Linked DNA regions of Homo sapiens: region 1 is linked to region 2. Evidence: promoter capture Hi-C in 16 types of primary human blood cells and fetal thymus (Javierre and others, 2016). All regions are on one chromosome and are shown on one strand. The core of a region is centred on a gene start or on the middle of the fragment in contact, and the rest is flanking DNA. Distances in the headings are between cores, read along the strand shown.

The links. Contacts are between HindIII fragments. The CHiCAGO score rates a contact against its expected background, and 5 or more counts as called.
Region 1: a contact is called between a fragment that was not itself captured here and the fragment with the promoter of FAM107A in region 2, in 1 of 17 cell types (naive B cells). The highest score is 5.3, in naive B cells.

Annotation. Positions count from the first base shown.
Region 1 is chr3:58,297,809-58,304,196 of GRCh38, forward strand. No RefSeq gene overlaps it. Among named protein-coding and RNA genes, the nearest start is that of RPP14, 5.2 kb to the right of the region's middle. The HindIII fragment of the contact is 2,909 bases long and covers 3,498-6,388 here.
Region 2 is chr3:58,574,688-58,581,781 of GRCh38, forward strand. FAM107A (family with sequence similarity 107 member A) reads right to left here and starts at 2,704. Exons shown (of 4, transcript NM_001076778.3): 1 at 2,622-2,704. It overlaps LOC107984079 (a long non-coding RNA gene), which reads left to right. Exons shown (of 3, transcript XR_001740724.2): 3 at 4,937-5,488. The HindIII fragment of the contact is 9,093 bases long and covers 1-2,956 here.

The DNA.
Region 1 (6,388 bases), core at 3,702-6,201, 270 kb before region 2:
CTGAAGCTCTGCTGGGGTCTGCCCAGGCATCTTTTAAAGGGATTGCTTACTGGCCAGGGGCTATACCTGCCTTCAAACACATTTTGGGTCTAATATTTATAATAAATGCTGAATGTAGGCCCCCTTATTTACTTTCCAAGCCCTGGATATTGTTCTTAGGACCATGGGTTGCTTAGGTAACTACCACCGTTCTAAAATGGTGGCTGCAGATTTTAACACGTGCAGGCCCCAGCCTTCTGCTTTGGAGGAGCCATCACCTTTCAGCTCTTCCAGCATCACCCTTCAACCACAGACTGGACCTTCTCATCAGCCTTTTCTCCCTCCCCAACCCCAAACTGGGTGCTGTTCTTGCAATTTCTCCATTTCCTGAAAGGAGACAAAAAAGTAGAGGGTTTTTTTTAGAGGGACGGGGCTGGTCACAGATAGGGCAGTGGAGATATCCTCAAATTACCTGCCAGGTGACAGTCCTGGGGCTGGCTCTTCTGGTGTCCCCAGCTGCCGCAGGGCTCTGGGGCCCAGTATTTGCTCCCTGGGGCTGGTACCAACCAGGGTGTGGACTTGGGGTTGCCTGTGCTGGCAGTGGGAGGAGAGTCTTGTGACCATCATCAGCCTAGTCTGGCAGAGGGACAGAGGGAGAGGACAGGTGACTGCTCGGGTCTCCTTTCAGCAACAGGACAGTCCCTCTCTCTTGGCTCCTGGAGGAACCTTCCCTTCATTGGTTTCTGGATCTTAGGGTCTTTAAATCCTCAAGGCAATGAACAGGCATCTGAGGCCATACCAGGAGCTGCAGCAGGGGGTGGAAGAAGGAAGAGTTCGTAGGGGCAGTAAGGGGGTAACAATTCCAATGACCAAAGGCCAAAGCTGGCTGGGTCGGGGGCAGGTGACTTCCTGAAGGACAACTGGAAAGGTGGCTGCCAAGACAACCCCTCCCCAAAGCTCTCAGGCCAGACGTGATTTGAATTCAGAAGCGTTTCGACCTGGAAAGGTATCACAGTGTGTATACCATGTATCATGTGATGCCCTCTGCAGGGTCTGGGGCCACCACACATGGTCAAATAAATGCATTTGTATTTCTGCCATGCAATGTATGTGTAGCCACAGTAAGTGGGACAAAAGCTGTAAGCCTCACCTTAGTTCAGATTAAGCATTGGCGCTGGATGAAGATACTTGGTTTCCAGTTGTTTTTTTTTTTTAGGATTTCAGATAAGGGATGGGAGCCTGCTTTCTAGGTCCGGCTCTCCTGCCTTGGGGGTGGGCTGAGGAGGCATTTTTTTCTTCCAGCATGGAAGGCGCAGCATATAGATAGGTCCATAGATCCCTCTTGTGCCTAACTATGTAAGTAGCAGGTCCTGATTTTTATTTAATAATTATTAGTGTTACCAAAATGATGCTCTGTCACTTTAAAAGAAATCAAACAAAAAGATTGCTTAAAAAAGGAGAGTCTCCTACACCCTCTGCACAGCCCCACCCTTCCCCCATCAGTCAGTCCATTGGGGTTTCTGTGCATTTGCACACATACATACGGGTAAGCAGTGTAAAACTGGTTGGCTTTGTGGATTTTTTTTTTATAACACAATTGGGGCTATGCTAGACATTACTGTTGCCCACTCCTCCTGCTCTTTTCCCTGGAGCTCTTCTAGGTCCAAACCCACAGAGCCCTCAGGTTCCTATAACAGGGATGCAGAGTCCTCCAGAGAAAACGGGGTACAAATCTCTTTGTAAGGACCTCTTTGAACCCCCAGGAGAAGGTCTCTGAATTTGAAGAAAGGATTTAAGGCCCCTCCAGAAACGGGCTGCTTTATTACAGGGTCGTTATCCCCTCCCCAAAATCTCCCTTCCTGGGGCCCTGGAGCCATTTTTTTAGGAGGGAGATTTCTAAGATCACTTCCAAGGAAAGTTTCCTCCGTCATTTAAATACAGTTCAGAAATGCTGGGTGAGACAAAGTTAAACAGCATGGCTCCAGCTATAACCCCCAGACAAGCAGGGGAATGACTGAAGGAGAAAAGATGTCCTCCAGTAGCTGCTGGCAGAGGGGTGGGTGCTGGGGCAGGGGACCAGGCTGTCTTGCTGTTCCCTGGGTGATGGGGGTGGTTTTGATGGTCTAGGAAAGGGCTTTTAGTCTTTTTTACCATTGTCTGGTGCACTGCCCCCAGAGTTCCTGCCCGAAACGGGTGTGCTTATGTCCTTCCCAGGTCCCCTTTACTGACTGCTGCATCCACCCCCCACCTGCTGGGTTGGCTGCCCAGTTGAGCCACCCTCAGATGACTGGAGGTGCCTGCGAAGCTATACCTTTTCTCCTCTTATGTCCAAGTGTTGCCAGATAAAATACAGGATGCCCAGTTAAATGTTAATTTCAGATAAACAACAAATACATTTTTAGTATAAAGATGTCCCACTCATTGTTTATCTGAAACTCAAATTTAACTGGGAATTCTGTATTTTTGCTTGTTTTTGCAGAGAAAAAACAAACAAGATAGGTGTGGTCCACAGCTCCCTCTTGTGCCTAACTACGTAAGTAGCAGGTCCTGATTTTTTATTTAATAATTATTAGTGTTACCAAAATGATGCTGTCACTTTAAAAGAAATCAAACAGCCGGGCACGGTGGCTCACACCTGATCCCAGCACTTTGGGAGGCCGAGGCAGGCAGATCATCTGAGGTCGGGAGTTAAAGACCAGCCTGACCAACATGGAGAAACCCTGTCTCTACTAAAAATGCAAAATTAGGCCAGGCGCAGTGGCTCACTCCTGTAATCCCAGCACTTTGGGAGGCCGAGGCAGGCAGGTCATCTGAGGTTGGGAGTTAAAGACCAGCCTGACCAACATGGAGAAACCCTGTCTCTACTAAAAATGCAAAATTAGCCAGGCGTGGTGGCGCATGCCTGTAATCCCAGCTACTCTGGAGGCTGAGGCAGGAGAATTGCTTGAACCCAGGAGGTGGAGGTGGAGGTGAGCAGAGATCGGGCCATTGCACTCCAGTCTGGGCAACAAGAGCGAAACTCCGACTCAAACAAAACAAAACAAAACGAAAAACAAAAAACAAATTAGCCCCGTGTGATGGTGCATGCCTGTAATCCCAGTTACTTGGGAGGCTGAGGCAGGAGAATAGCTTGAACCTGGGAGACAGAAGTTGCAGTGAGCTGAGATTGTGCCATTGCACTCCAGCCTGGGCAACAAGAACAAAACTCTGTCTCAAAAAAAAAAATCAAACAAAAAGATTGCTGAAAAAATGAAAGTCTCTTACACCCTCTGCACAGCCCCACCCTTCCCCCATCAGTCAGTCCACTGGGATTTCTGTGCATTTGCACACATACATACGGGTAAGAACTCCTGGGTTCAAGCAATCCTCCTGCCTCAGCCTCCAAAAGCACTGTGATTACAGACATGAGCCGCCGTGCCTGGCCTATCCTATATTTTTATTTGCTAAATCTGGCAACCCTATAGGTAGCAGCCAATGACACCTATAGAAGGCTTGGCCCCCTTGCCTCAAAGCCTAGAAGCTTCCTTAGTATCATTTATGCTCCAGGACTCCCCATGGGATCCAGCTGAGGCTAGACTCAGCTGAATCTGTTACTGAAACACCAAGTGTTGCTTCTAGGTCCTGCTGCTCACCAAAGAGAAAGCTAATCACTGAAACAATGAATATTGCCAGGGAAGAAGGCTTTCTTTGAGAGCTGCTGCTGTGGACATGGGAGATCAGTCTCAAATCCATCTCCCTGACTGACTAAAATTAGGAGTTTATACAGCAGAAATATAACAAATGCAGGAAAACAGGAATCAGGGAAGGATAAGGAAGGGGAGTTGGTCAACAGAAAGCAGGTCGTGGGAGACAGGCAGTCATGAAGGGTGAAGGGTCTGGACTGTCATTGTCCAAATGCAGTGATCTGGTGAGTTTCAGCTCCTTGATACTACCTGGGAAGCCTCATGGTTGGTTTACTGAGAAAGGAACTCAGATAAGACAAATGTAACTTCTCAAATTTTAAGATGAGAAGGTCAATCTCTACATATACTCAAAAGAAACCGTAAGCATCAGTTCTGTGGGATGATTGGACCGGTTTCAAATCCACATCTTTGCTTGGCTTCTTCTCCTGCCCTATCTTGCTTCCCTCCTCCCTTACAGATTTCACTTGGGGGCCATCTCCCAGTAAATCACTTCCGTGAGGGTCTCTCTCTCAGGCTTGGCTTCTAGGGATTCTAAAGCACTGCCTGCTTTTCAGAGTTTCTTGTTTGGAGATGACGCTTGAGTTGATGACACTTGAGTTGCCTCAAAGGAGCAGCTCCCAGACTGGTCTTCCACATGGGAGGGATGGAATGCAGCTTTTTAGGCTCTGGAGCCTCTCACCACCTTAGATAAATGACTTAGCTTCATTTTCTTCATCTGTGAAAAGTGGTAATTATAGTGACATTGCATGGTTGATGGAATAATGTGAGCAAGTTAGCTGGTACTTGGCAAATCTCCCTAAACTATGTGATCTTATTCTCGAAACAGAAACAATGGCTACAGTTCCATAGGTTTTAACTTCTGATCATTTTCACTTCCTTTGTCCTATCTCCACAATCTGCTGACATAGGGGGTGTTTTCCATTAAATCAATGGAGAACAGGGGGACTGGAATCTCACTTGGACCCTTCTCTCTTGCCTTTTCTTCCCCAAGTTGAGAAAGCTCCTCAGCTTTAGAAAAATCCATTTGGCACCAATAAGTAAGGCAGGGAGGGGAGCCACACAGCAGAGGGGAAGTGTGGACTTAACTCATTCTTGGCTGCCGTACCTTTCAGGGACATAAAATAGAGACCGACCCCAACAACTTTGCTCTGAAACACAGAGGGTACCTGAAATGGTCCTCTTAAGAACTAACTGGCTCCACCCAATGCAGTACAGGGTAACTTTCATAAAGACTGAGGCAGCTAACCTGGGCAACATAGCAAGATCCCCTCTCTAAAAATAAAAATCAAAAAAATTAGCCAGGTGTGGTGACACATGCCTGTAGTCCCAGCTCCTCTGGAGGCTGAGGCAGGAGGATCACTTGAGCCCAGGAGTTTGAGGCTGCAGTGACCTATGTTTGCACCACTGTACTCCAGCCTGGACCACAGAGTAAGACCCTGTCTCCAAAAAAAAAAAGAAAAAAAGACTGAGGCAGCCTTGTGTGTTTTGATTTGGAGCAATTTTAGATACATCGTCAAGAGGTAAAAGCCCCCATATCATATTTTTCAGGGGACACTTAAGAAACTCATACTAGTTGTTGCTCCTGGAGAGGGGAGAGGCTGACAGGGGAAGAGGTGGAAGGGAGACTCACTTTTTAATATCTATCCCTTTATGTCATTTGAAATGTATGCTGTAAGCCTACAGTACCTATTCAGAAGATAAAATTTAGGCATGGTGCAGTGCCTCACACCTGTAATCCCAGCATTTTGGGAGGCCAACGCAGAAGGATCGCTTGAGCCTAGGAGTTCAAGACCAGCCTGAGCAACATGGTGAGACCCTGTTTCTACAAAAAAATTAAAAATTAGCTGGCCATGGTGGCATGCACCTGTAGTCCCAGCTACTTGGGAGGCTGGGGTGGGAGGATCGGTTGAGCCTGGGAGGTTGAGGCTACAGTGACCCATGATCACATTATTGTACTACAGTCTGGGTGACAGTGAGACACTGTCCAAAAACGATTTTTTAATATAAAATTTAGTTGAAAAACAAAAGTTTTTTTTTGTTTTTTGTTTTGTTTTGTTTGTTGGCAGAGTCTCGCTCTGTCATCTCGGCTAGAGTGCAGTGGCGTGATCTCAGCTTACTGCAACCTCTGCCTCCTGGGTTCAAGCAATTCTCCTGCCTCAGCCTCCCGAGTAGCTGGGATTACAGGTGCGCACCATCACACCCAGCTAATTTTTGTATTTTTAGTAGAGACAGGGTTTCGCCATGTTGGCCAGGCTGGTCTTGAACTCCTGACCTCAGGTGTTCTGCCCACCTCGGCCTCCTAAAGTGCTGGATTACAGGCCTGAGCCACAACACCCAGCCAAAAAACAAGTTTTTTGTCTTTATCATTCAAAGGCATCTCTTTTATCCTCCGCTCTGAATTAATAAGACAGCATGAGAGAATTCAGGCAACTGGGAAGACACTTCATTTTCAGGGTTTGTTGCAGCAGGGTGAAAATTATCTATTGTTCCTTGAAGTTCAAAATACAGGAATTGCTCTGGTTTTCCTGGGCCACCTGGCAGGATACATTTGCCAGGCAGCTGGCTTACAGGAACCCTCTCCCATTACTGAGGGTTTCCTGGGGTGCCAGACACTTTATACCATCAACTCTTTTTCCCTCAACTCTGTGAGGTAGATGCTAATAATCTCTCCATGTGACAGATGAGGGAGGTAGGTAAGTGGCAGAGGATGCATTTGAAGCAAGTTC
Region 2 (7,094 bases), core at 1,454-3,953:
ATATGCAGTTTATGGGACTGATGTTGTTTTTCCTGGGGTGGGGATAATAAGGGGTCTGAGGAAAGATTTGGAACCCCTTGCTTGGTTCCTCCCTGGTTCTGTTGGTGACCCAAGAGGTCCCAGAGCTCCTTGCCACAGGCTCCACAGGATGTTGGCCCCACACCAGGCAAGGCTCAGCAGAGATCACTGCTGCTCCCACGGAGAGTGCACCGGGCCACTGGGGCATGCATGGCTAATGCAGGGTGGCAGATTTGAAACCAAACACTGGTGCCTGCAGCCACAGGAGAGAGTAAGGAGAGACAGAAGGAGAGCTGCACTGATGGAGTCTCGGGGCCCAGTTCGTCTTGACAATAGCCATGGGACCCCAGGCTGTCTAAGGCCTCAGTGTCCCTTCCACTTGCCTCTCCACTGTTCTGGTAGTCATGTTTCTGTCTTCGATGGCATCAGTTGTAACAAATGACACATAAGCCAGTAAAGCAATGGTTAAAGCAGATGTTTTAGTGGAGACAGAGTGGGTTTGATTCATGGTGGCAATCCTTCCCAGCTGTGTTACCTTGGGCAAGTAGCTTAACCTCTCTGAGCCTCTATACAGCAAGGATAACAGCCTATTCATGGAGCAGTTTGGAGGGTGAAGTGATACAATGGCATGATGTGCTTAGCCCAGCGCCTGGCAGAGTGATGCTCACCGAAGACAAACTATGGTACTTCTGTCCTGAAGAAACCCTGTGGTCACCACTAGAATTTGATCTGGATCTCTAAATCACCCTTGGAGGCAGCCAGTGGTACCCTGTTTTATAGATGAGAAAACTAAGGCTCAGAGAGGCCAAGCTACTTGTCTCGATACACAGAGAGTAAGCAGCAAAGCCAGGACCTTGGACGCCAAATTCAATGCTCTTTCTACCTCTCCACTGTCTTCAAGGTGCAAAATGTCTTTTAGTTGACAAAGCAGGGTTATGTCCCTTTTCTCTCTCTAGATAGTCAAGAAACCCCAATGAAGAGGCTGTGTGAGCCCATTTTATAGATAAGAACATGGAGGCCTGCTAACTTGAGGACTCCTAGCCTACGTGAAATGCAAACTCTCACTGGGGAGCCCCAGCCTGGCCCTAGCAGCTTTGGGCTTAAGCTAGAGTCCACGGGCCTGTCTGGCCTCAGGCTGGTCTCTGTTTAGGAGAGGACCAGCTGGTGGCCTTCCCTCCTGTGCCCCCACTTCCTCATTACTGTTCAAGCTGCTGGGTTCCGAACACATTCAGAACCCTCTTGGTTCAGCATTTAATGGGATGCCAGGGCAGAGGAGAAGAGAGGCTTTCAAAATAACGACTGGCAAAGGAAAAACAGGCATTCAGTAAAAGTGACAAGCACGGTCACTGGATTTCCTGACCCTTCTGGCTTTTTTCCTCTCCATGGGGAAAGTGCCTATTTGTATTTCACTGGCCAGCAGCCAAAGAACAGTGTATCTCGGAGCCACCTCCAGATCTCCCAGCAGCTTCTGGTCGATGCTCGGAAGCCCCCAGCAGAGCTGCTTGTCCATTTGGATGCAATGACTCAAGGCTGACTTCCTGAACATTTTGCCTCAGGTCCGTTGCAACTTCCTACCTCGGAAGGAGAATGTTGGGTGGACATTTAGGATTTTGAACCAATTAAATAGCAGAGTCCAGGGCTAGACATGGAGGATACTTAGCAAGGTTAGTGGACAGCATTGTGCAGTTGATCTGGAACAAGCATCAGCAGACCTGGAATCCCTGCTGGCTCATTAGTGGCATGATGTCAGCCACTTTACCTGGCAGATGCCTCTGCAGGGAAAATTCCAGCAGGTACTCACCACCAACAGAACTAAGAGGGCCACTCAGGATCTAAGCCACCCAGAGATGCAGGCGTGGGGGCTGCCTTGAAGCTCAAAGCTACTTGGGTTTGGTAGCAGTTTCAAAAAGTGACACACCCAATCCTACAGCTCTTGATTTCTGGCCCAATCTCAGACTTGCCTTGTATTGCAAAGTCCTAAAGCCAAATTCACCAGAAAGGCAGGCCCTTCACACGTTAACCTGCGTGCACTATGTGCCATGCACTGTGCTAAGCACCTAGCAGCCATATCTCATGAAATATGAAATTCTTACGACAGACTGAAGAGGTGGGTACTGTTATTATCCTCTTTTTACAGTCAAGGAAACTGAAGTTCAGGGAAGTCATCTGATTTCCCCAAATCACACAGCCGGTGAAGGAAAGAGCTTGAATCTGAGCCAAACTCTGAAGCTGAAATCTGTGTTCTGTCTGTTGTGCTGAGAATTAAACCCCCATACTGTGTGATAATTGACTTAGGTGAGGCTATATCATGCATTAATTCAGATTCACCTGAGGATGCAGCAGAAAAAGATCAACAAGAATGCAGGGCTATGCCAGGGGGCTCGCTTCTTTGTCTCCTACCCTTTTCCGAAACCCAGGGTGCCTGGAGGCATCTCCCGTATCATTTTATGGATGCTGGGACATAGCCCGGGTACCTAAACTCAAAGCACTCAGGTCCACTGACAGCCCACTTCAGTGTACCGGGTCTGCCCTCCTTCCCTTCCACCTCCTCCCGAACGGCACCGCTCTCAACAGCAGATGAAACAGAACAGAGATGGTCTTACTTCTCAGGTCGAGTCCTTGGGAAGGGAAGTCAGGAGCGTGTTGCTGGGTTCCTCACTCCACCGGGAAGTCCCAGACTAGCAAGGAGGGCTGCCTCTAGAGGGCGGTTCTTAAACCCCTGGGAACGGAGGCTGCTGAAATGTGCCAACAAGTGAGACAGCCTTTGCATTCCTGTTTATTCTGGTATCAATAAAAAGGAACTGTTACTATAGTAACAGATATTCCACTTGGTGCACGGCCACTTCCACGATGCGGAACATCATGTCCAAGCCACACGCTTGAGAGGCACAAATAAATACCCATTTTGTCAGATTGATGAGGAATAAGAAACACGCCAAGCTTTGTTCTGAGCAAGGCGGCTCACGTAAAGGAATTTCCCTTGTTTCTTATGGGAGGGTCAGGCAAGAGTGGATTCCAGCACTTCCCCATGGGAGGGGAAGCCAAGCTTCCTGAGGCAGTGGTGTGGATTCTTCAGGAGAAAATGGCTCTGGGGGGAAAAGGGTGGGGTGTAAAGGGAGGGGAAACTGCTCAGCATTGGGTCAGTTCTTAATTATCCACGAATGGGTCAGAAACTCCGTACACAGCGTTTTCCTGATACCTTGAATGTCATTGGAACTTCACAGAGGAGCCAACGGAAGAGCGTGGGAGAGGGGATGCACCGTGTCTGGGTCTCAGCAGGCTCATGTGTTGGCCCTGGCTCCAGCACCAGCCCCTTCAGCAGCCACTCAGTGTCTCTGTGTCTTGGTTTCTGTGTTTGTCAAATGTGGAGCATACCAGGGTGGTTGGGAGATGACATGGATGAGATGACATTAGTGAAGCACATAGTCAAAGCTCAGCATATAGGACTTTTCTCCAAGAGAGACCTGGACTCTACGTGATCTGAGGCCAGAGCCCAGCATGGTGCATTTTGCCTGGCAGAATATGTGTTCCATAAGTAGTGGCTCAATGAATGAACATGTGAATGTAAAATATAAAAGTAGGCCAGGCATGGTAGCTCATGCCTGTAATCCCAGCACTTTGGGAGGCTGAGGTAGGCAGATCATTTGAGGTCAGAAGTTTGAGAACAGCCTGGCCAACATGGTAAAACCCTGTCTCTACTAAAAATACAAAAATTAGCCAGGGGTGGTGGCACACACCTGTAATCCCAGCTACCTGGGAGGCTGAGGCAGGAGAATTGCTTGAACTTGGGAGGCAGAGTTTGCAGTGAGCCAAGATTGGGCCACTGCACTCCAGCCTGGGTGACAGAGCAAGACTGTCTCAAAAAAACCCAAAAAACAAACAAACAAAAAAACCCAAGAAAAGTAAAAAATGTATGTAGATCCTTAAGGCCAGCCTGGATGCTTATAGATAATGGAGGCATTCTCCTAATTTCAGAATCAGCTTTCACTTGAAAAGCTGGAAGTGTTTTCTATCGTTTAGTGTCATCCTAGTTCCCCAGTGAGGAAGCTGGGGTCTACCAGTTAGACCAGGCCTCCACCCCAACTTTACTTTCTCATGGAGTCTTGGTTGGCTAGAAGGTGATGAGGCCTAGGACATGCATCACAGGTGAATGGAGGCTTTAACAAGGCAACCTTGTGTCTTCTTTGGCCTATATTATTTGTTCATTTAACAAACATTTATTTAATTCCTACTGTGTTCCTGGCACTGTTCTAAGTGCTGGGGGTACCATGTGAATGACACAGGTAATATCCCTGCTGTCAGGGAACCTACCTTCAAGGGGGACACACAGTAAAGAAGGGGACATTCAGGATGACGTCAGGCAGTGAGGAATGCCGTGATGAACGCAAGGCTGGGTGAGGTGAGAGCGGGTGGTGTTTTAGGGTAGCAGAATCACAAGGAGTCAGTTGTGTGAAGTCTGTACACATGGGAGAGTCTTCGTAGGGTGGGAAGAGCCAGTGGAAAGGCCCAGACTGGGTGGATCCTGGTGTGATGTAAAGGCAGGCTGGGTGCCATCTTGGGAGTGAGGGAGGTGGGAGACAGGGGTGGAGTGGGAGGGACAGGGCAGGCATGTCCAGGGAGTCTTGGCCACGCTGACCATTCTCGAGCCACTTAAACTAAGAGGGTCCTAAATTCTTGGGTATAAAACAATTTTCTGGAAACAATGTGTGGTCCCTTTTTTTCTTCTTCCCCAATTCTGCATTTCTTGAGGCACTATGAATGGTAGCCCCCTCAGCCTCCCACCCTGCTCTGCCTTAACTTCCCCAAACTCTCCTGGTAGAAGAGGACAGCTAGATTCTTGTCAAACCACTCTTTGCTGACCCTGGTTCCTTGCACACATCCTCCTGCTCTGCAAAGAAGTATTTTGAATATTTCCTAGGGTCTTTGGTGGCTCAGATGAACCAATCCCAGTGCCTTCTAACAGTTGGAGAGTAAGAAGGATCCTGGAGCGGGGGAACTTCTGACAGCTCCTGCTCATCCCCGGAGAAGACAGAAGCCCATCACCTGGTACACTTCAGAGGAACACGCACCTGACAGCCAAGGAGAACTGGGCAGTAGTCCTCGGATGTTGGGCGTCATTTTCCGTGGGCAGTTGGGAGTCACTGTGCTTCTCCCACAAAAACTCTTCTCACAGTCCAACTTGTATACAAACCCATCAGACTGCTAGCCCCAGGGCAGGTACCTACCTATCTTCCTGTCCCAGTACTGAGGGGCTCAATAACTATTGTTAACCTGAAGACACCGAAAACCTTGACAGCGCTGAGCTTGTTACAGCACCATCTTGCTGTGTGTCCATGTGCAGGTGCAACTGTACGTGAGATCAGCGGCCAACCACCACCCTTTCCCAGGCCACACTCCATCAGCAAGAGACTATGCTACACCCCAAGACGAGATGCAGCCAATAAACATGTCTATGTATTGACCTGAAAAAGATGTCTTCTACATATTCAATGAAAAATCATATGTAGTAGGATCTCTTTTTTTTTTCAAGATAAAAAAGTTGGTATATGTATAAAGAACTAGTGTGGAGGCAAATACACTAATCTGTTAGCAGAGGTCAACTCTAGATCAGTGTATCTCAAATACTATTACTAGATGTCATTTGAAATGAGTGCTAAAAATGCTCTTGCTTTTTTTTTTTCCTAGGGAGGAACCTAGGAATCTGGATTTTTTTTTTTTTTTTTTTTTTGAGACAGAGCATTACTCTGTTACCTAGGCTGAATGCAGTGGTGCCATAATGGCTCACTGCAGCCTTGACCTCCTGGGATCAAGCGAGCCTCCCACCTCAGTCTCCCAAGTAGCTGAGACTACAGACACATGCCACCACACCCAGCTAATTTTTTATTTTTTTTAGAAATGAGATCTCACTGTGTTGCCCAGGCTGGTCTTGAACTCTTGGCCTCAAGTGTTCCTCCTGCTTCAGCCTCCCAAAGTGCTAGGATCACAGGAATGAAGCCACCATGGAATCTGGATTTTAAACATACCTCTCTGGGGGCTCATTTATATTAAAGAGTTTGAGGACCATTGTTCTACAGCGTAAAATTACAGGCCCTTCTCCTTTGTCACTGCATTTCTGTGATGTTTGCGGTGTTAAAAGAAAAAAAAAGGCCCTAGCATATATTACTTTTGTTATCAGAAAAAGACTCTAAGAATTAAAAATGTGAGAAAGAGCAACATTTCCCAAACAACTGTAGTTAGTTAGGAATCACATCTGGCTCAGTTATGTCATCAGAATATGGGAAAACAGAGGCCCTCTGAACAAACAAGCCTTTGAGGCGTTTACTCCAGGTAATTGCATAATTCAAGCCACAGTCGCTGTCTCCTGCCTCCTTCTGTGTGGCTTTCCCTGGAGGTCTTCCTATTCTTCCAAAAGGAAGGACTCTGGGAAGCCAGGGGCCTGGGGATCTGCATACTTGCTCGGCCCCCTGGTGAGCTGGGGCATCAAAGGGGGAAGCCCAGGGGCTGGGCACACCCCTCCTGTCTTCCCTCCCATCCCCTTTTAACTCTGATTTCTTGGGAACCAGAGGAACCCAAAGGAAGGGGGACAGGGAAGACCAGGGGAGGCAGTCCTGACAGGGAGGTGGAGAATTTTCCTGCATCTATAGTGGGCTGGGCTGCAGTGTGCAGAAAATAACCTCCCCAAACAGCTTTTGTTTCATTTTTGCCCCCTTTCTCCAAGCCCATGGGCGCCTAGAACAGCTTATCTGGGCCCACGAACATCAAACAAGAAGTTTCCATGGCAACTTAAAACTTCCTCCTCAGCCCTGTATTCAGTCTAAATCTCCAAGGCCCCTTTTCAAGGCCTCAATGGGGTTTCTGAGCAGCCACCCACAAAACAGCCCTAGGATTAAACCGTGCCCCCCGCCTCTCAAACATGCTCTGCAGAAAGGACTCGGGGGTTGGGGGAGAAGAAGCTGTGCTGGCAGAAAGAACCTGTCATGGGATCTGTGGAGAGATTATAAAAGGAATGAGAGTCGCCTTTACAACAAGTTTGAACCGGGAAGAATTTACCCAGTTGAGGGATTTCAAGCGTGAAA